2 separate regions of the Homo sapiens genome follow, and region 1 is linked to region 2. Evidence: promoter capture Hi-C in 16 types of primary human blood cells and fetal thymus (Javierre and others, 2016). All regions are on one chromosome and are shown on one strand. The core of a region is centred on a gene start or on the middle of the fragment in contact, and the rest is flanking DNA. Distances in the headings are between cores, read along the strand shown. Region 1 overlaps ZFY (zinc finger protein Y-linked). Region 2 holds the start of RPS4Y1 (ribosomal protein S4 Y-linked 1).

Region 1 (6,733 bases), core at 844-3,343, 130 kb before region 2:
AAAACATATATATGAGTTCTAATGAGTCTGGGTCTACTGCTGGCAAATACAGTAAGATGTATACTTAAGTATCTTCTTAAATACTTAAGGCAGCCTGTTTCATGTTTATGTATTAAAAAAAAAAAAAAGAATCCTTACTTACCGATAAAGTGAACATATGATTTCCAACAGTGGGCTCAGGGAATCTACAACAAACTTTTAAGTGTTACACGGTAAGGGAATCAAGTGTGGTGTTATGCTTGGGACTTCAAAATTAACAAAAGTAAAAAATAATGTCTTAAAAAATACATTCTGGATTGCAGTAAATACCAAAAATACAACCCCCATATAATGTAACCTTACACTACACACCACTGTGGGCACTGACTACTATCTTTAGCATAACAGAAAGTGTGGCACAGACTAATGAACACATAGCACATAGTACAATTTAATTTATCACAAAAATTGGATTTTTCAATGTTTGGTCCATTAGAGAAACACTAAGTAATGTTCTCTCTGTTCTGGGCCCACCTGGTCAGTATGACACAGCAAGAGACCAACCACAGAGGAGGAGGACCCCAAGAAGTTTTTTCATTTCCCCTTTCCCATTTTAGTTTTGTTTTTGTAATCCTCTGCTGAATATATTTCATTATCCTTTTGGCTAAATGTTTATGTTTAAGTCAATTAAACAATGATTCACAACTATCAATCAGACTCTGGGCAAGTATTAGAGGTGCAAACTTTAAAAGAAACTGACCCAAGGCCAGGCGTGGTGACTCACACCTGTAATCCCAGGGCTTTGGGAGGTGGACGTGAGTGGATTGCTTGAGGCCAGCCTGGCCAACATGGCAAAACATGTTTTCTACTGAAAATACAAAAATTAGCTGGGCATAATGACACATGCCTGTAATCCCAGCTTCTTGGGAGTCCGAGGCACAAGAATCGTTTAAACCCAGGAGGCAGAGGTTGCAGTGAGCTAAGATCTCACCACTGCACGCAAACATGGGCAACAGAGAAAGGCTGTCTCCAAAAAAAAAAAAAAAAAGTAATGGACCCAAGAAATTTGTAATTCAGTGAAAAAGCAGACAGGTGAACAGATGATTATTTTAAAATGTGATCATAATAATGTAGTTACTTTTTATTAAGTGATTACTGAAAGCATTACTTAATACTCATAACTCCATGAGGAAGTGCTATAATACTGTCGACATTTTACAGTAAAGCAAACTGAAGTTTAGAAAACTTGAATGATTTATCTAAGGTCACACATCTAGTAACTGGCAAAACCAGAATTCAAATCTTGATCCATGTAATTCACAAGAAACCACCATCAACCTCTGGTGTTTGAAGAATGCTGTTAAGTTTAAATTGTTAGAGGCAATAATAATTTTTTGTAAGAAATAAAGAACAGTATAACAAAAGATGTTTTTCATTAGTGTAGAGCAGATAAATGTATTCACAACTCAACTACAATAAGCATTACTTACAAAAGGCAATGGTAATAGTTTTGACTATTTTAGGTTTTAAATTCTTAGTCTTAACTTTCAGCAGTGGCTTATAAACACAGAATTTAGATTTTGAAATCTCTGCATACTTTTCAAATTCCCCGTCTTGTTCTTCAAAAGATCCAAAACTATATTTGTCTAATCAAAATTATCTAAAGCCAACATAAAAAAAACAAAAATACAATGACGATATAATTTAGTTTCTTACTAGAAATTATGGACTACTTTCAAATAGCATCTCCTTGTTACAAACACGGATATTATAAAATCTAACTACTTAACCTACAATATGAGAACTTGAAACACTGGGCTACTAAAAGCAACTAAAACTTAACTACTTAAACACAAGATGTAAGAACCCAAAACAATGGGGAAAAGAGTTTTTTTGTCTATTTTGGATACAGTAACATTGGCAAATCACATTTTAATATACACTTGTCTTCAAAACAAAATGTCACTTAGACACTACCTGATTCCTTAAAGTAAATTTAAAAGATTACTTAGAAGAAAAAGTTAAAATCTCTCTTTTTTTTTTTTTTTTTTTTGAGATAGGAGTCTCAGTTACTCAGGCTGGAGTGCACTGGCGCTATCTCAGCTCACGGCAACTCCCAAGTTCAAGTGACTCTCCTGCCTCTGCCTCCCAAATAGCTGCGATTACAGGCATTGCCATCAAGCATTGTTAATTTTTGCATTTTTAGTAGAGATGGGGTTTTGCCATATTAGCCAGGCTGGTCTTGAACTTCCCGACCTCAAGTGATCCACTTGCCTCAGTCTCCCAAAGTGCTGGGATTACAGGCTCAGGCCACTGCACTTGGCCTAAAATTTCTTTAAACATAAAAATATACTAATTTTGAACTCTAGTGCAATCTTTAATGTTAACATTGGTGTAAATTATTTTTATTAAAATTGATTCATTTTCTCATCCAATGAAATAATATTTTATAAATTTTCAAGGTGTCCATATGAGTGTTACTATAAAACAGGCTGGGGAGTCAGAAACGTTTTGGCAAATGTTGCAAAGTGCAATAACAGCTGCCACAAAAAAAAGTGAAGGTACGTTATGTAGACTGGAAGAGAATGGCACTTATTCTATGCAAAGGATACAGCAGGTAGGGGGACAGGACAGTAAGAGAGTGTGTTCTTCAATACTGCTGCAAATTAGGCCATAGTGGGAAATGTGAACTACAGGTAAAGCAAAACCAGGTCATGGAGGACTTTATGCACCAGGCAGAGGGGCTCAAACTTAATTCTGGTAGACTGCAAGTTTCTCAATCTGATTAAAACCAGATCTGCAGGTATGGAATGAACTTGTATACAAAATAGACTTCAAGGTATCCTACTCTTGGGGATTCTTATCAGAGATCTGATAATTTCTGCTTTTAAAAAGACCAGTCACTAAGATCAGTATTTTTGCCAAAGCATCCTGCTGGCCTTATAAAAAAGCAGATTTGAAGAGATCAAGAAATGAAGCAGGGCACTACAGCTTCAAGTACATTTAGGTGACAGATAATGAAGCCTTGAATCAGGACAGAGGTAGTATAAATTGGGATAAAGGCTGGAGTTGGGTCATATTTAAGAATAAACTGAGAAGACGGAATGAATGACATATGAAGCCACCTACAGAATATTCAACTCTGAAAGCTGAAGATCAACACCAATTTGGAAGCCATCAGCAAACTGCAGTGTAAAGAAAATCATGAGCTGTAAAGAAATCATGAGTGTAAAGAAAATCACAGTCCCAGTGAGATTACAATTTAAGGCAGGGGCAAGAAAGAATTCACAAATTAACCTAAGTAGTAAAAGCTGGAGAGGTAATTGGAAGGGCATGAAACAAGCTAGGGAGTTAAAGATTCCAATAATGCTAGTAAAACCTGCTGTAATAACACAAGCCAATCAGCTACGAAAGGGAGAGGTGAGGAAATGAGAAGGATGTCTGTCTTTATAATTCACAGCTTAATTTTTAGCTAGTCATGTTATCTCACTTCTCTTTGTTTTCCTCAGAAAAAGAATTACAGTTTTGCTGACAAAAAAAATTGGATGTTGGATTTCCACTGGACTGCATTTTGTCTAAATTAATATCATAAAAACGTTGCTATTCTTTTGCTTTGCAGTCTTACAATGCAAGAACATGGCTTGTGCCTCTCCACTCAAATTGTCTCATCTTTCAAAACCAGGTTGTTAAAGTTCATTTACCACCAACCTCAGAAACAAACAGTTTACCTGATTTCTCTCTCCTAAGGTTTCCAACCAAACACCCTGACATTGGTATCAATGGTATCAAGAAAATTGGTATCAATTTTCTGTCTTCTTAAAAGAAAGATCCAGTTACTTTACCCTCCAGCCCTAGTCTCTAGCACTCCTTTTCCTACCAAGTAAAATACAAATTGCACAGTCTAGCAACCAAAATCTGCCCAAACTCCTTTGGTCTTTACAGTATTATTGTCCTCAATATCTCATGGGCCCCAAATTTAAACAATACTATTTTATTATTTATTCCCTTATGCTTCTTCAACTTTGCCCTAAAAGATAGCTTTTTCTTGAGATGATCCACTTTAATATTTAAGAAACTACTTAAAAATTAAAGAGTGCTCAAAAACAAACCATCTGAAATATGAATAGAATTTACAATAATATTATTCAGATATTTCTCAATGCATATATATAAGTAAAAGAACAGAAAGGACAAATACAAGTTTAAAATTAAAATTGAAATGTTACTTTTAAACAAAAATTTTATAGCAATTTGAACAAGTAAAACAGCTTAATTCCATGGCTGGTCATTCTAACTGTTCTCTTGCATATTTTTTCAACTCCTATGCCCCTGACTGATTTCATAATACTTGGCTGGCAAAACCACAAACCTGCCTGATATAATTTATGTCAGCATCTACATCTATGCAGCTAAGTCTAGATAGAAAAAAAAAGCATGATGTAGATAGCATCATCTTTAAATATACAATATGAATCTTGAGTAGATGCTATTTGCCATATTTTTCTTAAAATTCCAATACTGCCTGCCTGTTGATCTTATTTCCCACCTTACGAAGAACCCAAAACAGAAAAGATGATCTGCTGTCTGCCACATCTGTCCTACTGTCAACAACTAATTCACAAACTTTGTATTTCCTGCACACTGCCACAGACAAGCAGTGTTCCTTTCCACTTAAAAACAATACCTCCACATAAGCACTAAATTATACCTTCTCTTTTCTGTTTTTTTGCAGTTATCCCTTAAACCATCAATTTATCTATCACCCAGTAAAGGAACACTCCCATCAGGAAACAAATAAGCTTTTTCTCTTGAAACAACACTAAAACAAACAAAAATTCCATCTCCTCTTGATCCCACTTCTCCTGCAAGCAACTGTTTCATATCTCCAGTGATTCTCATTGCACATTCTTTCTCTAAACTTATTTAATACTTCCATCAAGCTTTTGTCCATGATTTCACTGAATCTGTTCACCAAAGACATACATGACCAATTCTGAGTCCTCATCTGACTTGCCTAAGTTGCTGCATTTGATGCAAACTGTCACTGTCCTCTCTACTAAGATTAATACATGCATTTCCTTTTTGAAGTTTATGATACAACTCAAACTGAAGTCTATGACAAACTGTCATCCTTCCAGCAAGGCATCCTTGACCATCTCTGAAACTCACAATCATTTTGATTAAACTCTTCTACTTTCCCAAGACACATTCTAATATACATTTAAATAATTTGATACAGGTACAGCCATACTACAAGTCCACAATGATGAGAGAAAGGAATCTCTATTTTGTGCACTGATGTATCTCAAGACTTGACAATACTGTCTAGCCTTAGTAACTATCTAACATTCAATTTGTTATATGAATGATGATCAATTAAATGTCTATTAATTCAAGAGAAGATTTTAAAATACTCTAAGAAAAATACGATAAAAATAATAGGTAGGAATCATATTGTAAAGATATTATCTACTGTCACCTGCTATAAAAGATGAAAACAACCGGGCACAGTGGCTCACACCTGTAATCCCAGCACTTTGGGAGGCAGAGGCGGGCGGTTCATGAGGTCAGGAGATTGAGACCGTCCTGGCTAACACGGTGAAACCCGTCTCTACTAAAAATACAAAAAAGAGACTACCCAGGCATGGTGGCAGGCACCTGTAGTCTCAGCTACTTGGGATTCTGAGGCAGGAGAATGGCGTGAACCCAGCAGGCGGAGCTTGCAGTGAGCTGAGATCCTGCCACTGCACTCCCGCCTGGGTGACAGAGCAAGACTCCGTCTCAAAAAAAAAAAAAAAAAAAGTGAAAACATGAACATATTTGCACATCATGCCACGGCAAATATTTTCGTTAATATTTTGTAGACATTTACCATGTTACATAACCTTAATTTGTATAAATGTTTACTCCAATTTTACATTAAATTAATTCAAAAATCACTACTCATTATTTTATCAGTTCTCCATTCTTGAGTCTTTTTCTACTAATTCATCTTTTGGTTTATGGTACCAAGCAGCAACTCCATCACACATGGGTGTTAAAATTTCTGAAATCCTGGATGTTTGAAAATGTCTACCTGTAATTTTGACTTGAATAATTTGTCTGGGTATAAAATTCTTAAGCTATACTTTCCTCAGAAACTTTAGGCTTTGTTGCACTGTGTATAGCATTGAGTATTTTGATGTGGGTGACTATATAATTCTTGATCCTTAAGTTCATTAATATAATGATGATTATTAATAGTTTTTACTGGGTGTGGTGGCTAATGCCTGTCATCCCAGCACTTTGGGAGGCCGAGGTGGGTAGATCACCTGAGGTCAGGAGTTCAAGACCAGCCTGACCAACAAGGTGAAACCCCATCTCTACTGAAAATACAAACATTAGCCAAGCATGGTGGCAGGCACCTGTAGTCCCAGCTACTCGCGAGGCTGAGACAGGATAATTTCTTGAACCCAGGAGGCGGAGGTTACAGCGAGCCGAGATTGAGCCACTGCACTCCAGCCTGGGTGATGGAGCAAGACTCCATCTCAAAAAAAAAAAAAAAAGTTTTATTCGTCTCTCAATTTCTTAGCAGAAAATGAATTGCCTTAAAAGATTCCAATTTTTTTTTTTTGGCACTGAGAGGAAATTCACATAATATGAGTTACTATTGCATAGTATGTAAAGCATACAAACCAGTGGGTTTTCAGACAGCTGTGCAAATTCACAGAGCTGTGCAAGCAACACCACTAATTGCAGAAAATTTCTATCACCC
Region 2 (7,105 bases), core at 4,550-7,049:
CTAATACCAAGTTGTTACGGGGAAATATTATGTCTGAAATCCATCAGGCTGTTTTCCCAAGACCCACAAAATACCACTTTTCTAGTCTTATTTTCAAGGGTGGAGGGCTGTTTGGATGTTCTGTCTCTCCACTAACCTATGCTACCTGGTGGATTAATAAACTATGAAAAGGCTCCCTGGTGTGTCCCTGACATAACTGACGTCCCAGGAGCCTCTGATTCTCCACTCTGAACTCGCTGTGTCCTTGGCTCAAGCCAAGCTAAACTGGGTGGGGTTTGTGACAGGGAATGCTCCCTTCCAGCTGCCCAAAGAAACAACCAGCAAACAAATAAGCTCAATCAAAACTTCCCAAGTCTCTCACCTGTTACACAAGGATAAGGCCAATACCGTAACCCAGGGCAACCATTTGGCACTTCTCGCTACTATGCGATAGTCTCCTGGACACAAGGTTTTTACACCCTGGCTGGCCAATCTGGTAGGGCCAGTACTAGGTATTAACAACACTCCAGTATCTCCTTGTCCCACTCCATCTCCCCCTACTTAAAAATTCACAGGGACTACCAATCTGCATTGTCTCTTGAGATCCAAATTCCATACAAAAGCAGAAACCAGTCATCAGATTTGATTTCCTCTGTGCTTTCTACCTTTTAGGTACAAAAGAATCCAACACCCTACGCGACTGAACACACTGCATGATTCAAGGCCTAGTTCCTATCATCTAAAACAAAGTACCTCCTGTGGGCGAATCCACAAAAACAGAATGGACCCTGCATCAAGGGACACGACCAAATAAGTCAGAAACAACCAAACAACCGATATTTGTCAATTCCTTTAGGGACTCTAATGTGTTTCCCCCAGAGAAATAACAGAGAAAAAGGCAAGCTGGTTAAACTAAGTAGAAACAACATCCAATGAAACGTTGTGATTCACTTACAGAATGCATCTCATATTCAGATGGCATCTGGTCACTGTAAGTGATTGGGTCATGTGAAAAACAAAGTCACCCCATGACCCTAAATCCAGGGAAAAGAGGAATGGATGACTGAAGGGTGATCCTGGTTTCCAAAGAGGTCTTCCCTACACAGAAAAATGGAAGGTGCTGTCCACACAGAAAGCAACTCCCTTGAAAGTTTCCTTGAAACTTCAGCCATTAAATCTGGGGAGGGAAGAGGGAGTTTTAAGGGCAGAGGCAGACATCAGGCAGTCAATCATCTTCTATGTCTAGCAAGTGCAAGGCAGCACTACTACTAACATAGTCACAGAAACCTGGCAGGAAAGCATATTATCACCATTTACAAGGAAAACAAAGACTCAAAAAAGGTTCTATGTACTGTTGCCTGCAGTTACACAATTAATCAATGACAAGAAATCTGGATTTCTACCCAGGCCTTCCTGGTCAATATCACAGATCTTTCCTGTACAGAAATATCTTGTCCTTCAGAGAACTCCTTACTTGTAATCCCGTTTCTAAAACAGTCTTGTGTGGAAAATCCATTACTTTCTATCAGTGTGCACCTACATGCCTGGATTAAACAACCAGACAAACAAGTAGAGATAGGAAATATTCCCGGAATCTGGCTTAAACACCCTCTGACAAACTTAGCAACCGACCTATCTGTCTGGAAATTACAAAGCTCACTTGACTTGTGCAACATACCTTTGCCTCTTCCACTGTGATGCGGTGAACAGCAAAACGGCCCTTGGTGTCATAGACCAGGCGGAAATGTTCACCTGTCTTCTCGATGCTGATGACATCTGATCACAAAAGGGTATAAGGAACATCGTTAACACAAACACAAAGTTTCTTTTGCCTGCACAGCAGGAACACTCTATGCCAGGTTGAACCTGAGAACGTTTTAGCAGCCTAGGAGTCCCCAGGGCTTGGCGGAGGTGCTTGAATGAAACCAACCAACCCCTGCTCCTCTCCCAATACATGTCATCCAACAAAAGAAAGTGAATACATTTATGGCTGCTCTATTGCTTCCTATGTTCTTGTGCAATAGCTGCTTGAGACTGTGTGCTGGGTTAACGCACTCAGGATCCTGAGGAGAAAACATACATGAGCACACCCACAAATACCAGGAAACCAAATGAACAAGCAGACCTCACATTTAAGCAAGCAAGGCTCCAGGCTCAGCAGGCTGCCCAATCAATGTCCTGGCCCCATTTACGCCCTCCATGACTTCGCTTATCAGGAGTCCTGCCTCACTCAGGATTTGGGGTTTTGAGAAACAAAGCAAAATGCTAAAAAAAAAAAAGAGGAAGGAAGGAAAGTAAGAAAAGGAAGGTCTGTCTTTTCTAACTCAGTGGCTGGATCCTAGGAATGTCCGGCCTGGAACCCCATCCACTCGGTAGCATCCACACCTGACAAAGTAATCATCCCCCTGCTTTCTGGACAATGCTAGGCTAAAAAGCTGTACTGAGCCTTTCACCATGAAAAGGGTGAACAAAGCACTAGGTCAGAATTCCTTACCTTTCCCTACCTTCCCTCTTGGTACACTTTTTCCCTAGAGGTGTGTGACCCTTCTGCCCCTCCTCCACCCTCCCCGCCAAAAAAAGCTGCAAATCCATCCTTGGAGATCCAGAATAGTTAAGTCATCAACGAAGTGGGAAGACAGAGCCAAAACCCTGTTCACTGACAAAGATTCTCTCCTTGACCAATCGTTAGCCAGTTTCCTCTGAGCCCTCTTCTTGGCTAAGCTTCAACCTTGACCTATGAAGACCTCAACACTAACACAGCTTCTAAAAGCTCAAGATGAGCCCAGTCTGCCTCAAAATGCCTGCCTGAGAAAACTCAAGGCTGCCAAAAGAATTTACTGTTTGTTCCAGCCAACACCTAAGGACAGCTCCTCTGTCTCCCAGTCTCTGCCGGGAAGGTAGGAGCCTAACTTTGATAATCCGCCAGCATGCAGCCACTGCTGGCCTCATCCCATTTACATTATCAACCCCTTTCCAGCTTTTCACTTGAGCCTTGCCACTCCTCTCCCTATCCCTCATTCTCCTTCTGAAAGGACCAGCAGTAACTTCTGCAGAAATCTGAAGTTCAGTGTCCAGTTTTATCACTGGCAACATGAGAGCCCTACATCTTGTCCTTCTCTCAACCTGTTCCTTCTTCAAAACAAAACAAAGAACTCTTTCCTTACCCATGAATCCAGCAGGGTATGTGACATCCACTCGAACCTTGCCATCAATTTTGATGAAACGTTGCATACATATCTTCTTTACCTCATCTCCAGTCAACGCATACTTGAGTCTATTCCTGAGGAAGACGATCAGAGGAAGACATTCCCTCAGCTTGTGGGGACCTGTCGATGGACGAGGTGCCTGTAGAAGACAAGGAAAGGTAACCTAATCTAAGAAGATCCACTCCTTATGTAACCAGATTGAGCAGATGACGTACTTTAGTTCTGCATAAGTTCAGCTGAACTTAACTTGTTGTGGGGAAGAGGAATACAAGAGGGCAATTATTTTATTAGTTTAGAGGTCTGTCTTGTTAGGAAGGTCATATCCCCAACCATGGAAATCTCATTTTGTGCCCCTTCCTTCCCCAAATCTAGCCTCACAACCATCTCCCCATTTTGCCCTGCCCCAAGCACCACTGCCACTCATACTCCTTCTTCAAACCTCCCTTGAACACAACACTACATCCCATGTATCTCAAGTGTAGCTTACGCTTTACCCAAAACCTTATGAAGACATATTCTACTACTCTCTCACCATGCCAGGCTTCAAAGTTCCACACAAGCCCTGCCGATGTTGCAGGACCACCCTGTAATACCCAATGTGCGTTCCTCCTCTCTTGGCTGCTTGCCGGCTTAAGTGTCATCAAATTCACACCGCAACAAATCCTGTAACCTATACTCTCGCAGTTTTGGTGTTATACTGTCCTTAGGATATCTGCTACCAGTACATATAAAAGTCTCAAGGTCTGTCTTGAACACCACTCCCCAATTACCTTTTAAGTTTGGATCACACAAGAATCTCTTCCAATGGAGACCGTTCAAGCTGCTTCTACAGATCCCTCTCTAGCTTTGTCTCTCTTAAAACGGACTCGCGATCATTAACCACACACTTTCATCAATGTCACAGGGAAAAGGAGAGGAACCCACAAGACTAAGGGACCAAGTTCCCAGCAAGTCTTCTTAAAGAGTGCCTTGCTCATCCACTTAACAATAGAGAAAACAATGGCCCATCCAGGGAGGTCAAATAGTAGGTGACAGTAGCAGAGGTAGCACTTGGAAGCAGAAACTGACAGGGACAGGTTGCAAATCCAGGTCCCCAGCCAACACACTGCCTATGTTCTCTCTGAAAATATCAGAACAAGGAAGACAAGTTTCTACTACTCAGTGTTCAGAGTTCAAACTGTACCAAGAAGAGGCCAAATCAAGTTAGTTACTAAGTGCCTCCTAAATGGAGACCCTCAGAGCTAAATATAGTCTCTTACCACATTTATTCCTGCTCAAAAAACCCTTGGCATCTTAAGCGCCTCGATTCTGTCTTCTTCACACTGGCTCCTCTCTGTCTCAGAAGACCAAGACTTTACAGTTTTAACCACTCTCTCCTAGTGTGACCACACCATCAATGTGGAAATTGCCTAGTCTCCTTGTGAGATGCTTGCCTACTGTGCCTCTGAGTATACTGCCCTCATCCTGCCAGGTCTTCAAGGTTGGGTTCAAGAGCCTCCAGACTTTCTCACACAACTTCTTGCCCTTGTTTCGTGGGCTCCTGTAGCCTTTACTATTAAACCAGTAACTCGGGCTCAACGTAAAAAGCAGCTACTCCACCCTCTAAAACAAGGGGTAACTTTAAATTAAACGCATTTGATTATTAATGGGGGACTCAGCGGACTGTCACTGAACTCCTTTCTTATGTGGAATTGGACACATTCATTAACCCACCCAGCTCTGGGCTCAGGAAGTGCCCTCTGAAGTGGCGAGCTAAAAGAGCAAAGGAAACCATCGGGACGTGACATCCTGGCCCTTTGTTGCACAGAAAAGTGCAAGGACAAGTTCAGGGTGCGGGAAGTCTTTACCAACGAAAATCCCACATAACAAACAAGCAAACGCCGCCCCCAAGAAATACCGAGCCACAGGTATTTAGCATGCACTCTTGACTAAAAAAAACAAAAAAAAACCACAAAAAACAAAGTTATACTCACAAATACACCCGTTAGTTTGTCAAGCATCCAATGCTTCGGCGCTGCAACACGCTTTAAGTGCTTCTTGGGGCCCCGGGCCTGAAAAGGACACGAAACTCAGAGAAATTAGTTTCCGCTGACAGTGAAATGCCCTCATCTTCAGCTGTAGGAACTGCTAACGGGTAATACCTGACTCAAGGAGAAAAGATCGCCCAGCCCATACTCAAGCCCCGTTTTGAACAAATATTACTTCCTGCCAGACCCCAGAAGAGACCACGCAAAGCACAGACCTTTGAAAACTTGGCGGGTCTCCCTAGCATCCGTCAAGAGAGCGTCCACAGTGCTCTCCAAGCGAATCTGAGGCTGCTTCAACGTGTGAAAATAAGCTAATCCGGGTAAAAAGCCACTGCCGGGCTGCGTCAAGGATGGACTCACGTGACGGCCCCCAGACCGAGCACAACGAGACACACTCTTCTCAGACCTCCCCTCTCCAAATCGGGTTTCCTGAAGCAGCACCAGCAGCATTCCCACCCACCAAGTAGGGGCGACCGAAAAGTGAAACATCGCCAAGGTAGAACGGCCCTTTTTCAAATGATGGAGGCAGATATACTAGGAGTTAGGAACTATCGGTCTTACCATGGCGAAACTCTGCGACGGAAGAGAATCTGTTCTTTTCCGGTGCAACCAAAGTCTGTTGTCGTAAACCGCAGGAAGTCAGATGAGTGAGAAGTTTAGTTCCGGTTTCTTATTCTTCCGCTGTAGAGTTCATATCCTGGAACTGAATTTCTTAGCATTTTCAGTTTCTGATACTGATTTACAGGTGTCAGTTATGCCGCAGGACTTTTTGTTGTGCCTACCCCCCGTCAAGTTGGCTGAGCTGGGAGGACGCAGTTTACACTCTTAAACTTATCTTTCGCCGACCTTCAAAATATTTAGCAAAAGTCCTGAAACAGCACGATTTAGGAGCCTTAAAAAAAAATGCCAATCGTGAGAAATAACCTATATGATTCCTTGTGACTGTGACATGCTGTGATTGCAAAATCATGATTTGTTTCAGAGACAAATCATTCCTTGTTCAGGATTGGGGCCAATTTCATAGGTTTGGGAAAGTACTAAAATCGTCTGTACCGTAAACATTGAAAGGATAGGTTTCATGGCATTTGAATTTTAAGTCGAATACCTTGCTTTGGATTAGCTCGTGATGATGGCTGCACAGCTCTGTCCATGTCGTAAAACCTGCAAAACAATTCACTTTTAAGAGAGTGAAGTCCGCTATGTAAGTTGTACTGCGCAGGCGTGTGTGTGGTCACAGCTTCCATTGGAATTTTTCACGCGCGTCCGCCTGACAGAATTGATATACAAAAAACAACCAGCCAGGCCGGGCACGGTGGCTCACTTCTGTAATCCCAGCTCTTTGGGAGGCCGAGGTGGGCGGATCACGAGGTCAGGAGATCGAGACCATCCTGGCTAACACGGTGAAACCTCGTCTCTACTAAAAATAAAAATACAAAAAATTAGCCGGGCGTGGTGGCGGGCGCCTGTAGTCCCAGCTACTCGGGAGGCTGAGGCAGGAGAATGGCGTGAACCCGGGAGGCGGAGCTTGCAGTGAGCCGAGATCGCGCCACTGCACTCCAGCCTGGGTGACAGAGCAAGACTCCGTCTCAAAATAAACTAAATTAAATTAAATTAAAACAAAAAAACAACCAGTCAAATGAAGCTGCACTTCCTTAATGTGTACAATTTGATGAGTATGGACATAGGCGTAAATCCACGATACCACCATCACAATCGAGGTAATGAACATCTCCATCACCTCCAAAAGTTTCCTTGTGTTCCTTTCTGGTTATTCTCTCTCTCTCTCTCTCTCTCTCTCTCTCTCTCTCTCTCTCTCTCGGCCAGTGCACAGGTTGGTTTCATACATTTTAGGAAGGCAAGATGTAAGATGTACATGGTGCAGGACATTGGGGT

What was found. The method cuts DNA at HindIII sites, captures the fragments that hold promoters and counts their contacts. A CHiCAGO score of 5 or more calls a contact.
Region 1: a fragment that was not itself captured here is called in contact with the fragment with the promoter of RPS4Y1 in region 2 in 1 of 17 cell types (naive CD8 T cells); the score reaches 7.0 in naive CD8 T cells.

Annotation. Positions count from the first base shown.
Region 1 is chrY:2,967,358-2,974,090 of GRCh38, reverse strand. All of the region lies in intron 3 of ZFY (zinc finger protein Y-linked), which reads right to left. All of the region lies in intron 2 of ZFY-AS1 (ZFY antisense RNA 1), which reads left to right. Among named protein-coding and RNA genes, the nearest start is that of ZFY-AS1, 32 kb to the left of the region's middle. The HindIII fragment of the contact is 5,375 bases long and covers 1-4,780 here.
Region 2 is chrY:2,840,296-2,847,400 of GRCh38, reverse strand. RPS4Y1 (ribosomal protein S4 Y-linked 1) reads right to left here and starts at 5,799. Exons shown (of 7, transcript NM_001008.4): 1 at 5,774-5,799; 2 at 5,159-5,236; 3 at 3,144-3,324; 4 at 1,658-1,755. The coding sequence starts at 5,776. The HindIII fragment of the contact is 6,443 bases long and covers 2,703-7,105 here.